Linked DNA regions of Homo sapiens: region 1 is linked to region 2. The links are contacts of gene promoters, found by promoter capture Hi-C in blood cells and fetal thymus (Javierre and others, 2016). All regions are on one chromosome and are shown on one strand. Each heading gives the region's core, a stretch centred on a gene start or on the middle of the fragment in contact. The rest is flanking DNA. Distances are from core to core; before and after follow the strand shown.

Region 1 (5,479 bases), core at 520-3,019, 520 kb before region 2:
CAAATGAGGCATCTGGAGGCCCAGGACCGTGGCTCCCTGCTCCGGTGGGAAAGGCTTCCCAGAGAGTCGGGTCTGAGTGGGGCCTTGTGTGAGGGCCAGCATTTGACTGAAGGAGGAGAGGGCTCAGGCAGGGAATGAGGAGGGAGCAGTCCGGACTTGGAAAGCTGGGAGAGGCATCTGACGGGAGAAGGCAGATGTGCTGGCTGGAAGCCGTCTTCTGGGCCCTGGCCCTGGGTTTAGAGGCCTGGAGTTAATCTGAAAGGCAGTGGGAGGCCACTCCAGGGGCCTGGACAGTTGTGGTAAGAGATGACTTGTAAGATTTGCAGGGGGAGGGTGTGCAGAGACAGAAGGAGCTGGGAGCGGAATGGCAGGCCTGCTAGGGGCCTCGGAACCAAAGCTTTGCTTTCAGGCCAGATCTCGCAGGAGAGGCGAGGAAGGGGGAAAGGCATAAAGAGAGAAGGAGAGGGTTCTAGGTCTTCTTCATCAGGGAATCCTCACGGCTGGGAGGCAAGGGAAGGACAAAGCAGCTAAGAGCAGAGAAGGCAGAGGCAGCCTCCCTGGCACAGACTGGACTAGGTCGCGACGTTTGTGCCTAAGCCAGCAGGTGGCAGCAAGTGAGACTCCCAGACAAGGCCCAGCATGAGCGGCATTCACCCGACGTGGCCACTCCTGCTTCTGAAAGCAACCTCAGAAGTGCCAACCAGCAGCTCAGCTCCCTGCCCCTTGACCTTCAGGGCTCTCTTCAAATACTTAGTCTTAGAAAGAATCGCTTTGAAATCTGGCCTCAACACCGGTCACACAGGACTCTTCCCATGCGGGGAAAAGACGCACGTCTCTGGGAGAAGCACCCCTTCCTTCTCCTGCCAGGGAAAGTGAGGACTCAGGGTGGGGGTCAGCCTTTGCGATCCCATCCTGCAGCCCGGGGCTAGCACCATCCCTTTTTCTAGGGCTTGTCTTACAGGTAAGAGGCAAGAATAGCGCATCTGAAATCTGAACAGACTGAGCCAGGGGTCAGCCCTGACCCAGCTGCGGGGCCTGAGCGGAGCTGAGCACAGCGCCAGGCCCAGGAACTTACCGCAGGGTGAGGCTGACGTTGGTCGAGCTGCCGTTCTCCAGCTTTACGACAGGAGGAACAGTGAGGCTGACGCTTGACTCTGGAAGGACCCAAATCAATGACATGAGGCACTGGGTCAGAGTTCAGGCCTGTGACAGAAAACTGGGCCGAAACCCCTGACATCTGAACTCCTGAGCTCTGACTCTCTGACGAGCCCTATTCTGTGATGGGACTGCAAACACAGGCCCTGGTTAGCTTCCTTCCCCACCTGCTGCCAGAGACAGAGATGGAGGAAAACAGGCCTGAGCAGGAAACGCCGGAGCGTCCTCCTCCCGCTGCGATGACAGGCTCTGAGAGTCTGCGGCTGAGTTAACCAGAGATTGTTAGAGAACCATGGAGCCCAAAAATCATTACAGGGGAATTCCAGCGTGACCTGGGAGCGTAAAAGGCAGCCGTGAACCACCTCTTCAGATGAAAGCACAGGGGTCTCCTCTGTTCATGAAGTCAAAATGGTCCTGAAGAACTGGGCCAGCCCCTTTCCTGCACTCTCAGAGAGACACATGGGCCCAGCTAATGAGTTTCTAAGGAGCCCTTTGGGGTCCCTTCCCAACCCAGCTCACCCTGGCACTGGTCCCCTTCCTGGGGCTGACTATCTGCGGGGTACTGGAGGAGGAAGGGTGAATAGTTGTTTCACTCTGAGATTTCTTCTTGGCATTAAGCTGTTAACTCAGAATCAAGTTGACAAACAGGCCCCCAGATGAGGGAAGAAGCAGATCTGGGTCTTAGGGTCTTAGAAAACCATCGTGGGGCTGGGCGTGGTGGCTCACGCTTAGAAACCTGGCGCTTTGGGAGGCCAAGGCGGGAGGACTGCTTGAGCCCAGGAGCTGGAGATCAGCCTGGGCAACACAGAAAGACTCTGTTTCTACAGAATATTTTCTTAAAAAAAGAAAGAAAACTGGGCAGGCGTGGTGGCTCATGCCTGTAATCCCAGCCTTTTGGGAGGCCGAGGCAGGTGGATCACGAGGTCAGAGGATCAAGACCGTCCTGGCCAACATGGTGAAACCCTGTCTCTACTAAAAATACAAAAAATTAGCTGGGTTTGGTGGCATGCACCTGTAGTCCCGGCTACTTTGGAGGCTGAGGCAGAGAACTGCTTGAACCTGGAAGGCAGAGGTTGCAGTGAGCTGAGATCGCTACTGCATTCCAGCCTGGGCAACAGAGCGAGACTCCATCTCAAAAAAAAAAAAAAAAGAAAGAAAACCCTCTTGCAAGGCCAACTAGCCCAGAGCACCGGACTGAGTAAGCCTCTCTTTGTGTGCTTCCTGTATTCTTTGTGCAGCCCCGTCCCAGCCTCTGCTCCCAGGGGTACTGGAAGGCTCATGCCACACCTGCCATCTCACTTCCCCTGCCTGATTGCCTTCAGGGTTACACACAGCCTGGGGTTATGGTCATGACTCTAGGCCGGGCGGGGAAGCAGGTGCATGACTGTGATGAGGAGCGTCTTTGCAACGGCAGAGGCTGCCAGCATGCCCGGTTCCCCGACCCAGACCCCGTCACTCAGACCCCCCAGGCCCAGTTCCCCCCACCCAGACCCTGTCACTCAGACCCCTCAAAGGCAGATGAATTGAGATCTGAAATTTTAGACGCTTGGGTTGGAAGGAAACTTTTTTTTTTTTTTTTTTTTGAGACAGAGTCTCGCTTTGTTGCCCAGGCTGGAGTGCAGTGGCATGATCTTTGCTCACTGCAACCTCTGCCTCCTGGGTTCAAGTGATTCTCCTGTCTCAGCCTTCCAAGTAGCTGGAATTATAGGCATGCAGCACCACGTCTGGCTAATTTTTGTATTTTTAGTAGAGATGAGGTTTCACCATGTTGGCCAGGCTGGTCTTGAACTCCTGACATCAGGTGATCTGCCTGCCTTGGCCTTCCAAAGCGCTGGGACTACAGGTGTGAGCCACCATACCTGGCCCGGAAGGAAACTTAAAGTTACCCAATTTGACCTCTGATTCTCCGCCTCAATACTCCTACCTGGTAGTTTCTCTTCCTCTGTAACCTCGTCTCCTCTAAGGAGATCACAGCCTGAAGCTTGCCCTGCCAGGCCAGGCTCTGCTACCCAGAGCCTCTCAGACCCTGAGAGCTGCCTTCTCCATGCTCAGCACATGTGAATACAGATGGAAGCTCTGTCCCAAGTCCGTAGGTCCCCACAGTCCACAATCTCCAGTCCCCTGCTGGCTGGCTGGGCTCCTCAGAACAGGATGTCCCCTGGCCCTTGCAGAGGCCAAGGTGCTCAGAGCGGCAAAAGGCAGTCCCTTCCTTATGTGGAGCCTCAGAGCCTGGAAGCCGCTGTGGCGAGTCTGCCCTTCTTTTTCAGGCTCACTGTTCTGAGGTCATTCTGAGGATTTCTTCTGGGCTTGCATAGCTGGGACTTCCTGTACCACCAGTTCAATTCTGCCTAGAGCTGAGGACCATGCCAGATAAGCAAGTCCCACAACCAGCCACTGCTCAGGACAGGATGCTGAAAGTGATGCTGGGCGGCCAGCCAGACTCTGGATCCCTAGGGCTCTGCCAGAGGTAGTGGAGGTCAAGGTGAGTGGGAGATCTACATGGCTACAGAGCTCCTACAATCTTTGCATATAGGAGGTTGAGGGCCGGGCACAGCGGCTCACACCTGTAATCCTAACACTTTGGGAGGCCGAGGTAGGTGGATCACCTGAGGTCAGGATTTGGAGACCAGACTAGCCAATATGGCGAAACCCCATCTCTACCAAAAAGACAAAAAATTAGGCCGGGCGCGGTGGCTCAGGCCTGTAATCCCAGCATTTTGGGAGGCCGAGGCAGGTGGATCACGAGGTCAGGAGATAGAGACCATCCTGGCTAACATAGTGAAACCCTGTCTCTACTAAAAATACAAAAAATTAGCTGGGCGTGATGGCAGGCGCCTGTAATCCCAGCTACTCGGGAGGCTGAGGCAAGAGAATCACTTGAACCCAGGAAGCGGGGGCTGCAGTGAGCTGAGATTGCGCCACTGCTCTCCAGCCTGGGTGACAGAGTGAGACTCCGTCTCAACAAAATAGAATAAAATAAAAAAATAAAATAGGAGTTTGTGAACACTCCAAGAACCAGACCAGAGAATGTTTATTCCCTCCTTCTTTAGCACCACAGAAAACTGAGGTGCTCAGCAACTGAGATATTGGGCTCCAAAGTCACGCAGTTCCATCCTGGCTCTGACACTTCCTAGCTGTGTGACCATGGGTAAGGTACTTACCCTCTCTGAGCCTCCATTTCCTTATCTGTACAGTGGGGAGAATACCAAGACCTATCTGAATGAGTCATGGTGAAGATACAATGTAGCAATGTTTGTAACATGTTTTCCACAAAGCCCAGATGCTAAATAATTGTTACTATTATTATCATCACATGATAACTGCAGGATATTTTTAGCCCAAGGTGGGAGGCAGTTAGGAAGCTGGCCCCCCAAGTCTAAAATCTTTACATTGTATCAGATTTACAAAATGAGTCACAACACCATCCTGAGTTCCTCCTAAAGAGAGTGATCATGGCTCACTGCAGCTTTGACCCCGCCAGGCTCAAGCCATCCTCCCACCACTGCCGCCTCTCACCTCAGTAGCTACGAACACAGGCATGCACCACCACACCCAGCTAATTAAAAAAAAATTTTTGGCCGGGTGCGGTGGCTCACGCCTGTAATCCCAGCACTTTGGGAGGCTGAGGCGGTCAGATCACTTGAGGTCAGGAGTTTGAGACCAACCTGGCCAACATGGTGAAACTCTGTCTCCACTGAAAATACAAAAATTAGCCGGATGTGGTGGCGCACGTCTACAAACCCAGCTACTTGGGAGGCTGAGGCACTAGAATCGCTTGAACCCGGGAGGCAGAGGTTGCAGTGAACTGAGATCACGCCACATTGCACTCCAGCCTGTGCAACTGAGTGAGAATCCGTTTAAAAAAAAATTTTTTTTTGTAGAGATGGGGTCTCACTATGTCGCTCACGCTGGTGTCAAATTCCTGTGCCCAAGTGATCCTCCCTCTTTGGCCTCCCAAAGTGTTGGGATTACAGGTATGAGCCACCATGCTTGGCCAGGTTTTTAAAATTAATTCTTATAGGCCTCTCTCCCACTCTGCACCTACCCAATACCAGCTACTCTGCTATACACCGAGCTCCCATTTTCTAATTATTACAAAAGTGAGAGGTAGGCATTTTTTTTTGTTTTTGAGACAGAGTCTTGCTCTGTCGCCCAGGCTGGAGTGCAGTGGCACGATCTCGACTCACTGCAACCTCTGCCTCCCGGGTTCAAGCAATTCTCCTGTCTCAGCCTCCCGAGTAGCTGGGACTATAGGCGCCCGCCACCACGCCCGACTAATTTTTTGTATTTTTGGTAGAGACGGGATTTCACCATGTTAGCCAGG
Region 2 (4,955 bases), core at 1,666-4,165:
GCGGTGTTTGGTTTTTTGTCCTTGCAATAGTTTACTGAGAATGATGATTTCCAATTTCATCCATGTCCCTACAAAGGACATGAACTCATCATTTTTATGGCTGCATAGTATTCCATGGTGTATTTTTAATTTAATTTGATCAAACCAATTATTCCTTTCCTTTCTTGTTTTCTTCACTGTTTTTTACTTAGAAAGTCCACCCTTGTCCTGAGAGTAAATATTGTGCTGCATTTTCTCCTGGTTGCTTTAGAGTTACATCTGCAGGGAAAATGCTTTAACCATCTGAAACTTATTCAGGTAAGTGCTATTAGGTTGGAATTTAAATTAATTTTCCAGAGACTTAACCAGCTTGTCCCAGCATTGTTCGTTCAATCTCTTCTTCCTTTTGATTGGCAGTGCCACTGTTAGTAAAGCAAAGTCTGAGGAATACTGTGCTCTGCTTCTGGGTTTTCTGTTTTTTCCTTTGATGAATTGTATTGAGGAGAGAAGTAACATATACCACAGTCCCTGGGGCATCCACATACTAGCAGAAGATAGTTCGGTAAGACATAGCCATGTTCAGGCCAGGCACGGTGACTCACGCCTGTAATCCCAGCACTTTGGGAGGCCAAGGTGGGCAGATCACCTGAGGTCAGGAGTTTGAAACTAGCCTGGCCAATGAGGAGAAACCCCATCTTTACTAAAAATACAAAAAAAAAAAAAATAGCCGGGTGTGGTGGCGTGTGCCTGTAGTCCCAGCTACTTGGGAGGCTGAAGCAGCAGAATTGCTTGAACCCAGGAGGCAGAGGTTGCAGTGAGCCAAGATTCTGCCACGGCACTCCAGCCTGGGTGACAGAGTGAGACTCCGTCTCAAAAATAAATAAATAAGAAATATCCATGGTCAGAGAGAGAATAAGACATAAGATGCCACTATTGCCTAGTAAGTAGTAATTTTAGTGTACGTAACTAAGGCTTACAAATCCATAGGTTATATTAAACTCTGAAGGTAAAAAAAAGCGGCACAGGGAAACTGATTCCGTGGGTTAATCACTCAGCTGAAACACTGTTCCATCCCAAGAATTTCACCTAGAAAGAATGCATTTGTTTGGAACACTTATCTCTCTGTAACCGTAGTGTTTCCCTACATATTCCTATGGCCAGGACTCCATTAACTCAAAGCTACCACTGAACCTACTAACAAAAAGGTTGGCTGGGTGTGGTGGCTCATGCCTGTAATCCCAGCACTTTGGGAGGCCGAGGCAGGTGGGTCACCTGAGGTCAGGAGTTCAAGTCCAGCCTGGCCAATGTGATGAAACCCCATCTCTACTAAAAATACAAAAAAAAAAAAAAAAAAAATAGCCAGGTGTGGTAGCAGTGGCCTGTAATCCCAGCTACTCAGGAGGCTGAGACAAGGGAATCACTTGAGCCCAGCAGGTGGAGACTGCAGTGAGCTGAGTTCGTGCTACTGCACTCCAGCCTGGGTGACAGAGTGAGACTCCATCTCAAAAATCATAACAATAATAATAAAGGTTCAGGCTAATTCTTATGCCTGATATTACCTCTATAGCAAAGCCCCTTTCCATTCTTCCCACTCTTTCCATTCTCTGGGGTTTATGTATTTACATGATAGATTCATACTGAGCATCTGTGTTGTACCAGCCTCAAGGCTAATGCTAGATTTCAAAGCTGAGCCAATTAGGCACCATCTCTGCCTACTCCCAGTGATGCTCACAGCAGAATGAGGGACACTCATATAAACAGACACTCAGAATCCAAGGTGACACGTGCTGTGATGGGGGAGGCACTGCATTAGGAAGGTCACGAACCTGAGTTTCTGGTGAGAGGATGAGTTGGGAAAGACTTCCCAGAAGAGGTGACATCTAAGGTGAGACCTGAAGCTTAGCTCGTCTGATAAATGGGATGGGAAAAACTATTTCAGCCTGAGAAAGCCTAAAGGTGAGGGAGTATCTGGGCCTTTAAAATAATTGAAACTATGATTAGTGCATAAAGTGTGGAGTGGAGGAGGGAGTTTCATGAGGAACTGGGGATGTCTGTAATAAATGACGGTAAGATCCAGGACATTCAGCCGTGTTCAGTTTAGAGTTTATCCTGGGAGTAATGAGGAGTGTATGAAGGATTTTTCAAGCAGAAAGACAAGAGTCGAATTTGATTTTTAGCAAGCCTATTCTCTGTGTATTTAGAACAGCAGGTGGCAGGTGGGCATACCTGGGGGCATGGAGATCAACTGCCCAAATCCAAGTGAGAAATCACAGTGCCCTGAATGACATGAGCTGCAGCTGGGACTGATGGTGACCAGTAAACAGAGAGACGTCAGTAAATTGTAGCCATATTGAGAAGGTAAAATTGCCAGGCTTTGGTGGTGGTTGGATGTAGGCAGGGAGGGAGAAACGTGGGTCAATAATGACGCTCAGGTTTCTGGCCAGACCCGCTGTGTAGATAACAGTGATAATGATTTCCATGTTAGCCATGCTTTTCCCAATTCCAAAACCCCTTTCCAGGAGCTGTCTTTTTAATTATTGGTACAATGGGCTCATTTGACCTGTAAAATCTTGGGTTGTATAAATGTCATAGTTTCTACATGAACACTACCAGAGCAAAGCCAGCAAGCCCCTCCAGCCCAGCCCCAAAATACACATATTGGCTTAATGCTTATGGAATAAATTTAAAAGCCTCTCATTGCATTACAAACAAATCTGTGGTTTCTCATAGCACCAAGCACAGGAATTTGCAAATATTTAGTCGAACCCTATGAAATGGCCATTTTTGCAGGTCCCAAAGAGTCAAATAGTGGAGATTTCCTATGATCCAACCTCACACTAGAAGATCAACACTGGAATATTGCATAATTTTCAGAGTTCACAATCCAGGGCTTACCAACGTCACCCAATTAACCCAACTTTCTTCCTACAGACAAATGGAGGGGAAAAATCTGACCAGCATCTCAGAATGTTTCCTCCTGGGGTTCTCTGAGCAGCTGGAGGAGCAGAAGCCCCTCTTTGGGTCCTTCCTGTTCATGTACTTGGTCACGGTGGCAGGCAACCTCCTCATCATTCTAGTCATCATTACTGACACTCAACTCCATACCCCCATGTACTTCTTTCTAGCCAACCTCTCCCTTGCAGATGCCTGCTTTGTGTCCACCACAGTCCCTAAGATGCTGGCAAACATACAGATCCAGAGTCAGGCCATCTCCTACTCAGGGTGTCTACTACAGTTGTATTTTTTCATGTTATTTGTGATGCTGGAGGCATTCCTCTTGGCGGTCATGGCCTATGACTGCTACGTGGCCATATGCCACCCACTTCATTACATTCTGATCATGAGCCCTGGGCTCTGCATCTTCCTCGTGTCTGCATCCTGGATCATGAATGCCCTCCACTCCCTTCTACACACACTTCTGATGAACAGCCTGTCCTTCTGCGCAAACCATGAGATCCCACACTTCTTCTGTGACATCAATCCCCTCCTGAGTCTGTCCTGCACAGACCCCTTCACCAATGAGCTGGTGATCTTCATCACTGGGGGTCTCACAGGACTCATTTGTGTGCTTTGCCTGATTATCTCTTACACGAACGTTTTCTCGACCATCCTGAAGATCCCATCAGCTCAGGGGAAGCGGAAAGCCTTTTCCACCTGCAGCTCTCATCTCTCCGTGGTCTCTCTCTTCTTTGGGACTTCTTTTTGTGTTGATTTCAGTTCTCCCTCAACCCACTCGGCCCAGAAGGACACAGTTGCATCAGTGATGTACACAGTGGTAACTCCAATGTTGAATCCCTTTATCTACAGTTTGAGGAACCAAGAAATAAAGTCTTCCCTGAGAAAGTTAATCTGGGTTCGGAAAATTCATTCCCCTTAGTGGTAGTGACTTGACATCCAATATGGGGGTCTCCATGCACCTGCGTTCACCACAGTAAGCAGTGAAGAATGAAAGATGGAGAGAATCTAGAGACCTCTGTTCCAGTACCTACGATCTGAACCTGAAATATTCATGTCTAAGCTACAGGACTGCATCATAACCCATCATCAGGCCAATGTCACAGGTGAAGTTCTTACAATTATGTTCTAAAACCACAGCCATCCAGATGTATAATATAATGTCATGCCTTATTATATTTACTATAGTTAATAATATTGATGATTTAATAATGTTATTAGTTAATGCTTTTTAAACAACATGGGACAGCTCATGACTGAAATAAGGGAATATCTGGCTGGGCTGTTGTATAGGGCCAAGAATAAAATTCAGGGAAGGACGACCTTCCCCCAGCATCACTGTGATCCTGATCACTCGGATCCCCACCCACAGTGTTTCTGCCACAGGCACTGCCCGTATCTGTGATGCTCCCATGCTCAGTGATGAGGAACTGGGTCTAGGAAGGGCTTGATGGAGATGGCATCTTCAGACAGACTCACTGCAGTGTCTTACCAGGCCTCCAAGACCCATAATCCTCCTGCCACCTTAGACTTCATGTGAAAACCTCAGGTTCCTCTTCAGGGCAATTTTTTCCACACTCATTTCATCTCTGCAGCCCCAATGCTTACCACATGGCGTAATGCCTGGTACCATTGATAGGTGCTGAATCCCACTGAAATGGTTACAACTTAAAGTTAGGGGAAAAGAATGATTTTTATGGACACTTTATGCTCTCCTGCCTGAATGATTAAAGCCTCCTCCTAGTTGGTCTTCAGTCCTCAGTCTACCCGCCTTCCATCAACTCTGTACACCATAATCAGATTAATCTTCATAGGGTACCATTATATCACTAAGAGAAATGTCCAGTGGCTTGAAACTGCCTGCAGAATCAACTTCCAGCTGTTTACCGTAGCATGCGAGCCCAGTGCCACCAGTTCATAACTGATGTCCACAGTTAACCACACTCTTCCGTATTTCTCCCAAGGTCAACTCAGGCCAACGGTTTCAGAATACATTGATTATTGTGCATGGTTGCCAAAAA

The links. Contacts are between HindIII fragments. The CHiCAGO score rates a contact against its expected background, and 5 or more counts as called.
Region 1: a contact is called between a fragment that was not itself captured here and the fragment with the promoter of OR1G1 in region 2, in 1 of 17 cell types (M0 macrophages). The highest score is 5.0, in M0 macrophages.

Annotation. Positions count from the first base shown.
Region 1 is chr17:3,643,119-3,648,597 of GRCh38, reverse strand. CTNS (cystinosin, lysosomal cystine transporter) reads right to left here. Exons shown (of 12, transcript NM_004937.3): 4 at 1,076-1,154. LOC105371493 (a long non-coding RNA gene) reads left to right here. Exons shown (of 6, transcript XR_007065579.1): 5 at 3,423-3,637. Among named protein-coding and RNA genes, the nearest start is that of CTNS, 9.1 kb to the right of the region's middle. The HindIII fragment of the contact is 2,739 bases long and covers 400-3,138 here.
Region 2 is chr17:3,125,511-3,130,465 of GRCh38, reverse strand. OR1G1 (olfactory receptor family 1 subfamily G member 1) reads left to right here and starts at 2,915. Exons shown (of 1, transcript NM_003555.1): 1 at 2,915-3,856. The coding sequence starts at 2,915. The coding sequence ends at 3,856. The HindIII fragment of the contact is 3,090 bases long and covers 1,880-4,955 here.